Linked DNA regions of Homo sapiens: regions 1 and 3 are each linked to region 2. The links are contacts of gene promoters, found by promoter capture Hi-C in human tissues and cell types (Jung and others, 2019). All regions are on one chromosome and are shown on one strand. The core of a region is centred on a gene start or on the middle of the fragment in contact, and the rest is flanking DNA. Distances in the headings are between cores, read along the strand shown. Region 1 overlaps AXIN1 (axin 1). Region 2 holds the start of NPRL3 (NPR3 like, GATOR1 complex subunit). Region 3 overlaps AXIN1 (axin 1).

The links. Contacts are between HindIII fragments. The study calls those that stand out against the background at their distance.
Region 1: a fragment that was not itself captured here is called in contact with the fragment with the promoter of NPRL3 in region 2 in 1 of the 25 tissues and cell types used here (H1 embryonic stem cells).
Region 3: a fragment that was not itself captured here is called in contact with the fragment with the promoter of NPRL3 in region 2 in 7 of the 25 tissues and cell types used here (IMR-90 fibroblasts, dorsolateral prefrontal cortex, heart right ventricle and 4 more).

Annotation. Positions count from the first base shown.
Region 1 is chr16:293,566-298,124 of GRCh38, forward strand. AXIN1 (axin 1) reads right to left here. Exons shown (of 11, transcript NM_003502.4): 6 at 4,157-4,559; 7 at 3,491-3,661; 8 at 1-153. Among named protein-coding and RNA genes, the nearest start is that of PDIA2, 13 kb to the left of the region's middle. The HindIII fragment of the contact is 5,628 bases long and covers 1-4,064 here.
Region 2 is chr16:137,099-141,956 of GRCh38, forward strand. It overlaps NPRL3 (NPR3 like, GATOR1 complex subunit), which reads right to left and starts at 1,575. Exons shown (of 14, transcript NM_001077350.3): 1 at 1,544-1,575; 2 at 1,052-1,236. The coding sequence starts at 1,169. RefSeq lists a silencer at 1,005-1,234 and an enhancer at 1,455-1,504. The HindIII fragment of the contact is 17,392 bases long and covers 1-4,858 here.
Region 3 is chr16:339,330-344,177 of GRCh38, forward strand. All of the region lies in intron 2 of AXIN1 (axin 1), which reads right to left. Among named protein-coding and RNA genes, the nearest start is that of AXIN1, 11 kb to the right of the region's middle. RefSeq lists enhancers at 129-853, 2,136-2,687. The HindIII fragment of the contact is 5,555 bases long and covers 263-4,848 here.

The DNA.
Region 1 (4,559 bases), core at 1-2,500, 160 kb after region 2:
GGGTTGGGAGCTGGGTGGGGTGGCATGGTGGGGTCTTGGATGAAGAGGTGGGAGGGCTGCACGGAGGTCCGGAGCTGAGGGCCGGCCCAGGGGTGCTCAAGGGACAAGGGTCTGGAGTTCTCATGGGGCTGTGGCTTCCTCGTCCCCGAAGACCTTGGGGAACAAGAGAACAAGTTGTGACTGTGGCCGACACCCTGGCCAGGTGGCCTGGTGGGGCTACACTCATCTCACAAGGGCAGCCTCCTTGAGGGATAGGATGGGATGGGGCACTGGGGCCTGGCCACCAAGCCACATGGACGTCCTCCACAGACCACACAATAAAAACATCCCGGCCAGGCATGGTGGCTCACACCTGTAATCCCAGCATTTCGGGAGGCCGAGGCGGGCAGATCACCAGAGGTCGGGAGTTCGAGATCAACCTAACATGGTGAAACCTCATCGCTACTAAATATACAAAATTAGCTGGGCGCCTGTCATCCCTGCTACTCTGGAGGCTGGGGCCCGAGAATGGCTGGAACTGGGGAAGTGGAGGTTACAGTGAGCCGGGATCACGCCACCGCACTCCAGCCTGGGTGACAGAGTGAGGCTCAGTCTCAGGAATAAAAAAGACAACAAAAAACCAACCCTCATTTGCCTGTAATCCCAATACTCTGGGAGGCCAAGGTGGGTGGATCGCCTGAGGTCAGGAGTTCAAGAACAGCCTGGCCAACATGGCAAAACCATGACTCTACTCAAAAAATACAAAAAATTACCCAAGTGTGGTGGTGGATACCAGTAATTCTAGTTACTCGGGAGGCTGAGGCAGGAGAATCGCTTGAACCTGGGAGGCAGAGGTTGCGGTGAGCTGAGATTGCACCACTGCACTCCAGCCTAGGCAAGAGTGAGACTCCATCTCAAAAAAAAAAAAAAAAAAAAAAAATGGCCAGGCGCGGTAATCCCAGCACGCTGGGAGGCCGAGGCGGGTGGATCATCTGAGGTCAGGAGTTCAAGACCAGCCTGGCCAACATGGTGAAACCCTGTTTCTACAAAAATACAAAAAGTTAACTGGGCATAATAGTGGGTGCCTGTAATCCCAGCTACTCAGGTGGGTTAGACAGGAGAACCACTTGAACCTGGGAGGTGGAGGTTGCAGTGCGTTGACACTGGCCTGTTGCACTCCAGCCTGAGCCACAGGAGCGAAACCCCATCTCAAAAAAAAAAAAAAAAAAAAAAAAAGGCCAGGCGCGGTGGCTCACGCCTGTAATCCCAGCACTTTGGGAGGCTGAGGAGGGCGGATCACGAGGTCAAGAGATCGAGACCGTCCTGGCTAACACGGTGAAACCCCACCTCTACTAAAAAAATACAAAAAATTAGCCGGGCGTGGTGGCGGGCGCCTGCAGTCCCAGCTGCTCTTGAGGCTGAGGCAGGAGAATGGCATGAACCCGGGAGGCGAGGCTTGCAGTGAGCTGAGATCAGGCCACTGCACTCCAGCCTGGGCAACAGAGCAAGACTCCGTCTCAAAAAAAAAAAAAAAAAATTCTTTCATGGAGACTTTTTTTTTTTCTTTTTTTGAGACAGAGTTTTGCTCTTGTTGCCCAGGCTGCAGTGCAATGGCTCGACCTCGGATCTCGGCTCACTGCAATCTCCGCCTCCCAGGTTCAAGCGACTCTCCTGCCTCAGCCACCGAGTAGCTGGGATTACTGGCACTCGCCACCACACACGGCTAATTTTTTGTATTTTTTTTAGTAGAGATGGAGTTTTTGTCATGTTGGCCAGTCTGGTCTCGAACTCCGGACCTCAAGCGATCCACCTGCCTCGGCCTCCCAAAGTGCTGGGATGAGGCTTCTTTTTTTACATTTTATTTTTAACAGCTTTACTGGGATACAAATTATATACTAATCCTAGAGGCCGGCGGATAGCTTTGAGTCCAGGAGGCTGAGACTGCAGTGAACGGTGTGATTACACCACTGCACTTCAGCCAGGGTGACAGAGGGAGACTCTGTCGCAAAAAATTAAAAAAAAAGTCTTAATGAATAAAAAGTATAAGTATGTCTCAAAGTGGAATGTATTAATACTTATCCTAAAATATGGGACATGCAATATTTAGTATATACAGCTATTTAAAAAAAGGATTCGGCCGGGCACGGTGGCTCACGCCTGTAATCCTAGCACTCCAGGAGGCCGAGGCAGGCGGATCACCAAAGGTTGGGAGTTCGAGATCAGCCTAACATGGCAACCACCCCCTGCCCCGGTCTCTACTAAAAATACAAAAATCAGCCGGGCGTGGTGGCTCACGCCTGTAATCCCAGCTACTCGGGAGGCTGAGGCAGGAGAATTGCTTGAACCCAGGAGGTGGAGGTTGCAGTTAGCCAAGATTGCACCACTGCACTCCAGCCCGGGCGACAGAGCTAGACTCCGTCTCAAAAAAAAAGACTCGAAGGCCAGGAATGGTGGCTCATGCCTGTAGTCCCAGCATTTTGGGAGGCCAAGGTGGGAGGATCACTTGAGCCCAAAAGCTTGAGACCCAGCTGGGCAACACACTGAGACCCCCTCTACAAAAAATGAGCCAGGCAAGGTGCTGTGCACCCCTGTTCCCTCGGGAGCCCCAGAAAAACGATGAGCCCGTCCCCACCTCAGTCAGCACCGATGGGGACCCCAAGGCCTTGCGGGACAGGCTTCCAACACAGGCAGGAGGGCCACGCCCCAGGCGCTCAGCTGCCTCACAAGTTCTCATCAAGTAATGTGGAGGGAGATGCGTCCTGGCCAGGGCCTGGGTGAGGGTGGGGGGCAGATCAGGACCTAAGTCTGAGGAAGCTGGGGCCATCCACCCACCAGGGCCAACACTTCCCAGCTGACCTGCCTCTGACCACGACAGGAAGGTGGGGGGTACCACCTCTGTGGGGCCCCTGGCCCTCCTGCTGGGTTCCGGGCACGAGTGCAGGCCCAGGGGGCGAGCAGGAGCAACACCAAGACCGGCCCGGCGGGCAGCGGCAGGGGCTGGACCTGTGGCGCCGGGGCCTTGCTCCACACCACACACGAGGCCTCTGCCCTTCTGGGAGGAGAGAAGTGCTCACGCTACACAAGAGCCTTCCCCAGCCCTCAGCAGGACGGCCAGGTGTGAGCACAGAAGGCTCCTCCGTGGGCACCTCGGGAGTGATGGTCAGTGGGGGCCTTCCCAGGTGACTTAGGTCATTCTCATGTGGGGGTCAGACTGGAAATGACCTCCCGAGAGCATCTGTGCTGCCTGCGGGGTGACAGCCACGTCAGCTTCCCTCCTGCTCGGGGCTTCAGGGACAGCCTCTCTCTGGGGACATGAGGTTTTCCTCCTGGAGACGTGGGGCCCAGGGAGCCTGCTGGAGGGTGCCCGGGAGGGTGCCACAGTGACAGGGGAAGTGTGAGGCGTCACAGGCGACACTCGCCACACACACTGAAGCTGCACACACTGAGACTGTGCGGAGGCCAGGGGTGGCAAAGCAGGCCCCACGAGGCTGGCTGCGTGCGGGGTGCTCACCCGTGGCCGGTCCTGCGGTGCCTGCTGATCTCCTTTTCCCCCTCAATGATCCACTGCATGATTTTCTGGTTCTTCTCCGCATCCTCCGAGGCACCTGGCACCTCGGTGCTGGCGCTCTTCCCCGACTCAGCCTTCTTGGCATTTCTTTTGCACGCCACGCCCACCTTCCCACTGCAAGGGCAAGAGCTGCGAGTCGCCCTGGCCTCCGGTGGCCGAGGCTGTGCCCCTTCCTCGTCTGCGAGGCCCCCTCCTGGCATCTGTAAGGCTCCCGTGGTGCAGCCGCCGCCCGCTGTCCCCTGCCCGCTTGTCCCCCACCCGCTGTCCCCCGCCAGCTTGTCCCCCACCCGCTGTCCCCTGCCCGCTGTCCTGGTGCTGTCTGGGGGTTGGTTTCCTCTCTAAACACACAGGCAGTCACTGCTCACCCCCTGAAGACTGAGGGCCAGAGCGGGAGCCAGGGTCGGGCTGTGTCCCCTAACCTTCATCTCCCACCTGAGGTCACGGCGTGGACTCCCCTGACCCAGGGCCCAGTCCACTCCCTCCAGCAGAGGGGCCTCCTGCCTGTTGCTGGCGGTCCTGGGTTTCCTGAGTTTTATGAGGAGGTTCTGGCCTTCTGCAGGGACACAGCCTCACCCCAAGCCCCCTCCTCACTGACAGGCGCACGCTCACCTGTGGGCGAGGCCATCACTGGCGTTGGGGGCAGCGCCAACACTCTCTGAGTAGCCTCGGGACCTTGCCCCATGGCTGTGTGGTTCCAGGCCCCAGGCGAAGCTGCTCTGGGCCCTGCGGGTGGCCTCGGCCTCCACCTGCTCCTTGGGCCGGGCTGTGCTGTGGTGGACGTGGTGGTGGACGTGTCGGTGGTGGTGCAGGCCGGCCGCGTCCAGCTTCGCCCCTGACTTGGGTACGTGCTTCCCGTGCCCCGAGGCGGCACCCCCCAGTGCCACTGGCATCTTGGCCACGTGCCCACTGTCCGGGGAGCGATGGCCAGGCCCAGGCGACTGGCGGCCAGGTGTCCTCAGCACACGCTGTACGTGCTCGTCCAGGATGCTCTCAGGGTTCTCCTCGTGTGCAT
Region 2 (4,858 bases), core at 325-2,824:
AGCCCCAGCTACTTGGGAGGCTGAGGCAGGAGAATCCCTTGAGCCCGGGAGGTGGAGGCTGCAGTGAGCCGAGATCACGCCACTCAACTCCAGCCTGGGCGACAGAGTGAGACTCCGTCTCAAAAAATAAATAAAATAAAAACAAAAACTGAACATTCATGATGATGAAAAATCAAAAGTAACCTACATGCCGTCCACAGGGGAAGGCAGCAGCCTGCAGCCAAGGGTGAGGTTGATCCCTGCTTGCAAAGGCAGACGGAGCTCCAAGGCCGACTATGGGAAAAGGGCGCCACAGAACAATTCGTGCGATGAAAAACCTCACGCGACGTTCCCTTTTCCTGTGGATAGATCTGCATCTATGCACAGGGCAGACAACTCCCAACACGGCCAGGGGTGATCCCTGTGCTTGCTAGAACTGGGGGTGGCAAAGACAACTTCAGATGTTCACGTAACTTTTTTTTTTTTTTTTGAGACGGAGTCTTGCTCTGTTGCCCAGGCTGGAATCCAGTGGCGCGATCTCGGTTCACTGAAACCTCCGCCTCCCGGGTTCAAGCAATTCTCCTGCCTCAGCCTCCCAAGTAGCTAGGATTATGGGCACGCACCACCACGCTCGGCTAATTTGTTTTTTTTTATTTTTATTTTTTCAGTAGAGACAGAGTTTCAACCATGTTGGCCAGGCTGGTCTCGAACTCCTGACCTCAGGTGATCCACCCGCCTCGGCCTCCCAAAGTGCTGGGATTACCGCCACCGGCCTTGTTCGTGTAATTTTGTATTTTCTCATGATGAATACATCCCAAACTCATTTTATTTTATTTTACTTTATTTTTTAAAGGCTGGAGACTGATGAAATGTCAGCAGTAGTTGCTTTGGTGTGGTGAACAATGCATGATTTTAATTTTTTTTTTCCTTTTTCTACTTTTCAAATACTCTACAACGAGCAGATCTCGAATGCCCAGCAAAAGCTAAGCTCCGCGAGGCGGCCCTGGAATGAGGCGACCCCGGAATGAGGCGGCCCCCGCGAGCGCCAGGCCCCCGCCCAGCGCTCACTTACTTGTCTGGGACGCCGGGTGCTCCTGGCTTCTCTGGAAGGGGTACCTGAACAGCAGCTTATTGCCCCTGCTCCCCGAGCTCACCAGAATCACGCTGATGGGGCTGGTGTTGTCCCGCATCCCGCCGTGGGGCCGGGGCCGGGGGCGGAGGGGGCCAGAGGAGGACGGAGCCGGAGGCGGAGGGGGCCTGAGGAGGACGGAGCCGGAGGCGGAGGGGGCCTGAGGAGGACGAGGCGGGGACGCAGGGGGCCTGAGGAGGGCAGGGGTGGAGGCGGAGGGGGCCTGAGGAGGGCAGGGGTGGAGGCGGAGGGGGCCTGAGGAGGGCAGGGGTGGAGGCGGAGGGGGCCTGAGGAGGGCAGGGGTGGAGGCGGAGGGGGCCTGAGTAGGGCAGGGGTGGAGGCGGAGGGGGCCTGAGGAGGGCAGGGGTGGAGGCGGAGGGGGCCTGAGGAGGACAGGGGTGGTGGTGGACGCGGAGCAGCGCCACAGTTACCAACCCACGTGCCACGCTCCGGGCTCGCGAGACTTCGGCGACACCGTCCGGAGGAGGTGCTAAGGCGGCGGCCGGGAGAACGGCGCAGGCGCAGGCGCAGGCGCAGGCAGCGGAATGCGCAGGCGCGGGGCCTTCTGGAAGCCACCGAGTTCCGCGGTGCTGTCTGGAGCCGTACGGTTCGCGTTTGGGGCACAGGGGCCCCTCTTGCTGGTGCGGATGGGAAAGGCGCGGGGTCGAGTCAGCGTCCCTCTCGATGTTGGTTTCTTCGTTTTACAAATAACACTTGGGCGGGGCGCGGTGGCTCACGCCTGTAATCCCAGCATTTTGGGAGGCCGAGGCGGGCGGATCACGAGGTCAGGAGATCGAGACCATCCTAGCTAACATAGTGAAACCCCATCTCTACTAAAAATTAGAAGAAATTATCCGGGCGTGGTGGCAGGCGCCCGTAATCCTAGAGGAGAATCGCTTGAACCCGGGAGGCGGAGGTTGCATTGAGCCAAGATCACGCCATTGCACTCCACCCTGGGCGACAGAGCGACGAGACCCCGTATCAAAAAAAAAAAAAAGAAAGAAAGAAAGAAAAAAGAAAAAAAAAAGGCCGGGCGCGGTGGCTCACGCCTGTAATCCCAGCACTTTGGGAGGCCGAGGCGGGTGAATCACGAGGTCAGGAGTTCGAGACCATCCTGGCCAACATGGTGAAACCCCGTCTCTACAAAAAAAAAAAAAAAAATTAGCCGGGCGTGGTGGCGGGCGCCTGTAATCCCAGCTACTCGGGAGGCTGAGACAGGAAAATCGCTTGAACCCGGGAGGCGGAGCTTGCGGTGAGCCGAGATTGCGCCACTGCACTACAGCCTAGGCGACAGAGCGAGACTCCGTCTCAAAAAAAAAAAAAAAAAAAAAAAACACTTGGAAGCCGACAGGAGATCTTTGAGACCTTGGGCGAGGCAGTGACACTAAAGGCAGGAGCGACTACAGAAGAATAAATTAAACTTCATCAGATTAAAAACTTTACTGCGGCCGGGCGCGGTGGCTCACGCCTGAAATCCCAGCACTTTGGGAGGCCGAGGTGGGCAGATCATGAGATCAGGAGATCTAGACCATCCTGGCCAACATGGTAAAACCCCGTCTCTCTACTAAAAATACAAAAATTAGCTGGGTTTGGCGGCGCCTGCTTCTAATCCCAGCTACTCGGGAGGCTGAGGCAGGAGAATCGCTTGAAGCCGGGAGGCGGAGGTTGCAGTGAGCCGAGATCGTGCCACTGAACTCTGGCCTGGCGACAGAGCGAGACTCCATCTCAAAACAAAACAAAAACTTCGGTGCTTTAAAGGACACCATCAAGAAAATTAAAAGTCCACCCACAGAACGGGAGAAAATATTTGTAAGTTACATATCTGATAAGGGAATTGTATCTAGAATGGAGGAAACTTACAACTCAACAATAAAAAGACAATTGAAAAATGCACAAAGGATATGAATATTTTTCCAGTGCATTATGCAAATGGCCAATAAGCACCAGAAGATGCTCAGCTCAACTGGTAGAGGCTTACGCCTGTGACCCCAGCGCTGAGAGGCCAGGAACTCCAGACCAGCCTGGGCAAAACAGAAATTAAAAATGCTCAACATTATTAGGCATTAGGGAGATGCAAATCAAAACTACAAATAGATGCCACATCACACCTCCTACGATGGCTGTAATCAAAAAGACAAGCGTCAGCAGGGGTGTGGAGAAACGGGAATCTCTCTCCTGCTGGTGGGAATGTAAGAGGCTACACTCGCTATGGAAAACAGGCTGGCAGTTCCTGAAAGGTTAGAGTTAACACAACACTCGGCAAATCCCCCTTTTAGATATATAGCCAAGAGAAATGAAAGCATATGTCCACACAAAAACATGTGTGTTCTTAGTAATATTATTCATAATAGCCCAAAGTGGAAGCAATCCTAGGGTATATCAATTGATGAATGGGTGAATATGGTATAGTTTGTTTAAGGGAATACTATTCAGCCATAAAAAGGAATGAAGTACGGCACATGAATCCATCTTGAAGACACACTAATATATGATTCCATTTATATAAGATGCCCAGAATAGGCAAATCCATAGAGACAGAATGATTAGTGGCTGCCTAGGGCTTCCAGGGGGTCAGGGGAAATATGGAGCGATTCATGGGTTTTTTGAAGGGGAGTGATGAAAATGTTCTAACGTTGACTGTGGTAATGGTTGGACAGCTCTGAGAACGCGAATACACTAAAAGACATGGAAGTGCCGGGCGCAGTGGCTCATGCCTGTAATCCCAGCGCTTTGGGAGGCCAAGGCAGGCGGATCGCGAGGTCAGGAGATCGAGACCATCCTGGCTAAGACAGTGAAACCCCGTGTCTACTAAAAATACAAAAAATTAGCTGGACATGGTGCGGGCGCCTGTAGTCCCAGATACTCAGGAGGCTGAGGCAGGAGAATGGTGTGAACCCGGGAGGCGGAGCTTGCAGTGAGCCAAGATCGCACCATTGCACTCCAGCCTGGGCGACAGAGCGAGACTCCATCTCAAAAACAAAAAAAAGATATGGAAGTGTACACTTGAAGTGGATAAGCTTTATGGTATGCAAATTGGTATGGTATGGTAAATTATATCTCAATGAAGTTGTTTTTTAAAAAATCACCCCACCTACCCTATCCCAGGCTTCCCCAGGAGGTAACTAAAGGTAATGAGCTTCTTTGGCTGCTTCCAGAACTTTCCCAAGCACATCAAATGCATCAGAACCTAACCACTTGACTGAGGGATGAGCATTTTCACTGTTGCAAGTAACCCTCTTGCACCAACACTGACACTAATGTGTATTTTGCAGAACAAATTTGTGGATTGGCCTCACCAGGGTGAAGGGTACGTGCATTTGAAATGGCTCAACAGTACCAACAGGTGCGTTTTCTTGCACAGGGCTGCATAACATTTTTTTTTTTTTTTTGAGACAGAGTCTCGCTCTATCACCCAGGCTGGAGGGCAGTGGCACAATCTCAGTTCACTGCAAGCTCCACCTACCAGGTTCACATCATTCTCCTGCCTCAGCCTCCCAAGTAGCTGGGACTACAGGTGCCCGCCACCACACCAGGCTAATTTTTTTTTTTTTTTTGAGATGGAGTCTTGCTCTGTCGCCCAGGCTGGAGTGCAGTGGCACGATCTCAGCTCACTGCAAGCTCCACCTCCCAGGTTCACACCATTCTCCTGCCTCAGCCTCCCCAGTAGCTGAGACTACAGGCGCCCGCCACCACGTCCGGCTAATTTTTTTGTATTTTTAGTAGAGACGGGGTTTCACCGCGTTAGCCAGG
Region 3 (4,848 bases), core at 1,790-4,289, 200 kb after region 2:
CGTCTCTACTAAAAATACAAAAAAAAAAAAAATTAGCCGGGCGTGGTGACACGCGCCTGTAGTCCCAGCTGCTGAGGAGGCTGAGGCAGGAGAAGTGCTTGAACCCAGGAGGTGGAGCTTGCAGTGAGCCAAGATTGTGCCACTGCACTCCAGCCTTGGCGATAGAGCGAGACTCCATCTCAAAAAAAAAAAAAAAAAAAAAATTAGCCAGGCATGGCGGCAGGTGCCTATAATCCCAGCTACTGGGGAGGTTGGGGCAGGAGAACTGCTTCAACCTGGGAGGCGGAGGCTGCAGTAAGCCGAGATGGTGCCACTGCACTCCAACCTGTGTGACAGAGCAAGACTGTCTAAAAAAAAAAAAAAATTCTCTTCAGATCTGCTCAAACAGGGGAAGCAAATACCCCAAAGGAGACTAGAAACCCCCCACACCCAGGCAAGGGGAGCCCACGCAAGGGGCAGTATGGCTCACAAGCACCTCTGCCCCCTCTGCACCACAGCAGAGGTCCCCTTAACAAGACAAGCCTGGGGGCGACCCCACCCTGGGCCACACCCTTTGCACAGGAAGCAGAGTTCACCCTTGCAACACAGCCCCTCTGCAGCCGGGCACCTTCAACAGCACCACCGCCTGAGGTCCAACGGACATGGAAACCCAAAACCACTCCTCCACAGACAACTCTGTACACATTTTGGGCCCTTTCTTTTTCTTCTTCTTCTTCTTCTTTTTTTTTTTAACCATTTCTTCTCTTAACCTTTTAGGCCATTACCAGAAACACAGTCAATAAACTAATGAGCAGGTCCGACGGTTCCTCACGCACCCCTGCGGGAACCTGAACGGCAAGGGCTGGCTGCCCACCTCGAAAGGACCCACCGGTCCTCTGAGCAGCTCCAGGAACCAGCAGCCCAAGACAAGCCACCATGTTGCTCCTGCTGTGGACATGTCTGTTGTCCACTCTCTGGCCACAGCCACATTGACCAGCCCTATCCACAAGTGCATCACTGGACTGGCCCGGGAAGACACACGAAAATATCCAGGAAGACCCTGTCCCCAGTCATCAAGGAAGGTCAGGGCAGTCAACAGAAGGGGCCAGCGGCGAGGAGACTGCGGGCTTGACCAAGCGGACCTGGCAGGGGCATGCAAGGCCAGCCCTGAAGGCCACCTGGTGGGCCAAGCCACCCTGAAGGGAAGCAGAGCCTGAGCCCGCCAGCCAGGGAGTGCAGGCCCTGGGCCTCCCGCCCAACACTCAGTCAACAGCAGAACCTGCCTGCTGATCCACACCGCTGAAATGACGAGGTGAACCAGCCAGCTCTGTTCAAAGTTCCACTGACAATGGGAACAAAGACCCGAGGGTGCAGAAAGTGTTCCCACAGAGGCAGAGCGGGGGAGCCAGGGAGGAACCCCATGAAACCTTGGCCCAGGAGCTCAAAATGACAGTGGGTGAGTGGGACAAACACAGAAAAGGGCCAGGAATGGAGCTCTTTCCTAGGCTGAGACAAAGACCTAAGCAGAACACTTCACTTTCCTCAAATCAAGTATGTGAAACCACCACGCGGCTCACACACGGACCAACAAGGACCCGCACTCAGGCGTCCCACAGGGGAACTGGATGCCTGTGGCCGTGCTGGACCGCAGCAGCCCCACCGCAGGGGATGAGCGACTGTGGCAGAGATGCAGGCAAAGTAGCCTCCAGGACAGAGGGGTCAGCACCCGAGGGCTGGCCCTCCTGGCACGTTCCTCCACGCAAATTCCACCCCGGTGAGAGGTGACAGCGTGCTGGCAGTCCTCACAGCCCTCGCTCGCTCTCAGCGCCTCCTCTGCCTGGGCTCTCACTTTGGTGGCACTTGAGGAGCCCTTCAGCCCACCACTGCACTGTGGGAGCCCCTTTCTGGGCTGGCCAAGGCCGGAGCCGGCTCCCTCAGCTTGCGGGGAGGTGTGGAGGGAGAGGCGCGAGCGGGAACCGCGGCTGCATGCGCTTGCAGGCCAGCTGGAGTCCCGGGTGGGCGTGGGCTTGGTGGGCCCGGCACTCAGAGCAGCCGGCCAGCCCTGCCGGCCGCGGGCAATGAGGGGCTTAGCACCCGGGCCAGCGGCTGCGGAGGGTGTGCTGGGTCCCCCGGCAGTGCCGGCCCACCGGAGCTGCGCTCAATTTCTCGCTGGGTCTTAACTGCCTTCCTGCAGGGCAGGGCTCGGGAGCTGCAGCCCGCCATGCCTAAGCCCCCCACCCCCTCCGTGGGCTCCTGTGCGGACCGAGTCTCCCCGACGAGCGCCCGGTCCCATTGACCACCCAAGGGCTGAGGAGTGCGGGCGCACGGCACGGGACTGGCAGGCAGCTCCACCTGCAACCCCGGTGCGGGATCCACTGGGTGAAGCCAGCTGGGCTCCTGATTCTGGTGGGGACGTGGAGAACCTTTATGTCTAGCTCAGGGACTGTAAATACACCAATCGGCACTCTGTATCTAGCACAAGGTTTGTAAACACACCAATCAGCACTCTGTGTCTAGCTCAGGGTTTGTGAATGCACCAATCGACACTCTGTATCTAGCTACTCTGGTGGGGACTTGGAGAACCTTTGTGTGGACACTCTGTATCTAGCTAATCTGGTGAGGATGTGGAGAAGCTTTGTGTCTAGCTCAGGGATTGTAAACGCACCAATCAGCGCCCTGTCAAAACAGACCACTGGACTCTACCAATCAGCAGGATGTGGGTGGGGCCAGATAAGAGAATAAAAGCTGGCTGCGGGAGCCAGCAGTGGTAACTCGCTCGGGTCCCCTTCCATAGTGTGGAAGCTTTGTTCTTTCTCTCTTTCCAGTAAGTCTTGCTGCTGCTCACTCTTTGGGTCCACACTGCCTTTATGAGCTGTAACACTCACCGCGAAGATCTGCAGCTTCACTCCTGAAGCCAGTGAGACCACGAACCCACCAGAAGGAAGAAACTCCGAACACCTCCGAACGTCAGAAGGAACAAACTCCGGACAGGCCGCCTTTAGGAACTGTAACACTCACGGCAAGGGTCCGCGGCTTCATTCTTGAAGTCAGTGAGACCAAGAACCCACCAATTCCGGACACACCGGGACGACTAACCGGCTCTCCACAGGATATGCATCCCCTAACACGTGAGGCCTAAGCTCCAGGCCCTGCTGTGGTAGCAATGCTCACCAGCCGCCTGTTCAGTACCCACTCTCCTTTTCCCTTTGCATTACCCGCAGCCTTCCTTTGGAGGACTGCCCCCAGCTCCCCACTGGGGAGCAGCCGTCTGTCTGGGTGGAGAACCCACTTTCCTTCAGGAGTGACCCTGCTGCACAGCCCCCAGCGCACGCACCGTGACTGTGCTGAGACAGACGGGACACAGCGGCACACGTGCCCTCCTCAGAGCAACAGCGGGCCCATCCGTCAGAGCTGCGGGAAGCATCTGTAAACAAGGGAGCCCAGAGCCCAAGGTCACTGCAGCAGCCACCTCCAACACAAAGCCCACGAAGTCGCCCACCAGGCAGGCAAAGTCAGAATGGCACAAAGCAAAGGTGCCAGGCCCTAAGGCACACCTGAGGCTCTGCCTCAACAGTGCCCTTCAGGGTTGGGCTCAGGTGGGTGGGTTTCCACGACTTCCAACCTAGTGCACCCTCACCTACACCTGGCAGGACAAAGAGAATGGTCTAAATGTGAGGAACGCAGCCTGGACTTCATGCCCTGTCTGTGCTGACAAGCAACCATTCCAACATCAGAGATCTTCAAGCCACAAGGCTGCACCACAGGCCACCTCCCACAGAGAGGATTCAACCGCAGACACGACTCCCAAGCCCCAGGGTCCTCTGCCACCAGCAGCCCCAGAGCAGTCAAGTTAGGACCCAAACTGTGTAGACAGAGCTACACAAAATTAGACAGGAGAAGCCAATGTATCCCACTAATTTCATAGCAAAGGTTCCTTATTACAAATACAGCAAACCAAGGACAGACAGCAAAGCTACTGCTCGCAGCCAAGAACTGAAGAGTGGCTGGGAGGGAGGCACTGGGGTTCCAACAGTGGAAATCAGAACGGAGCTCATTTTCCTCCTGCAGCCCAGCCCTCAACTTCAGTCCCATCTTAAAAATAACCAGCCGGGGCCGGGCGCAGTGGCTCACACCTGGAATCCCAGCACTTTGGGAGGCTGAGGCGGGCAGATCTCTTGAGGAAAGGAGTTCGAGACCAGACTGGCCAACGTGGTAAAACCCCATCTCTACTAAAAATACAGAAAATTAGCTGGGCATGGTAGCTCACACTTGTAATCCCAGCTACTCGGGAGGCTGAGGCAGGAGACTCACTTGAACCCAGGAGGCAGAGGTTGCAGTGAGCTGAGATTGCACTACTGCACTCCAGCCTGGGCGACAGAGCGAGACTCCATCTCAAACAAAAAAACAAGCAAAAAAAATAACCAGCCAGGTGCAGTGGCTCCCACCCGTAATCCCAGCACTTTGGGAGGCTGAGATCACTGGAGTCCAGGAGCTCGAGACCATCCTGGCCAACGTGGCGAAACGCTGTCTCTACCACAAATACAAAAATTAGCCAGGCATGGTAGCACACACCTGTAATCCCAGCTACTCGGGAGGCAGGAGAATCACTTAAACCCAGGAGGCAGAAGTTGCAGTGAGCCGAGATAGCGAGATAGTGCTACTGCACTCCAGCCTGTGTGACAGAGCGAGACTCCATTTCAAAAAAAAAAAAAAGAAAGAAAGAAAGAAACTCTCAGTTTATACCAGGCTTACTCAACAGGATAACTTTGCGGCATATTGTGTCCTAAAATGCTTGCTAAATAAATACCACTTGGCTAAAGACAATGAACAAAAGGGAAAAAAGGCCGGGCGTGGTGGCCCACGTCTGTA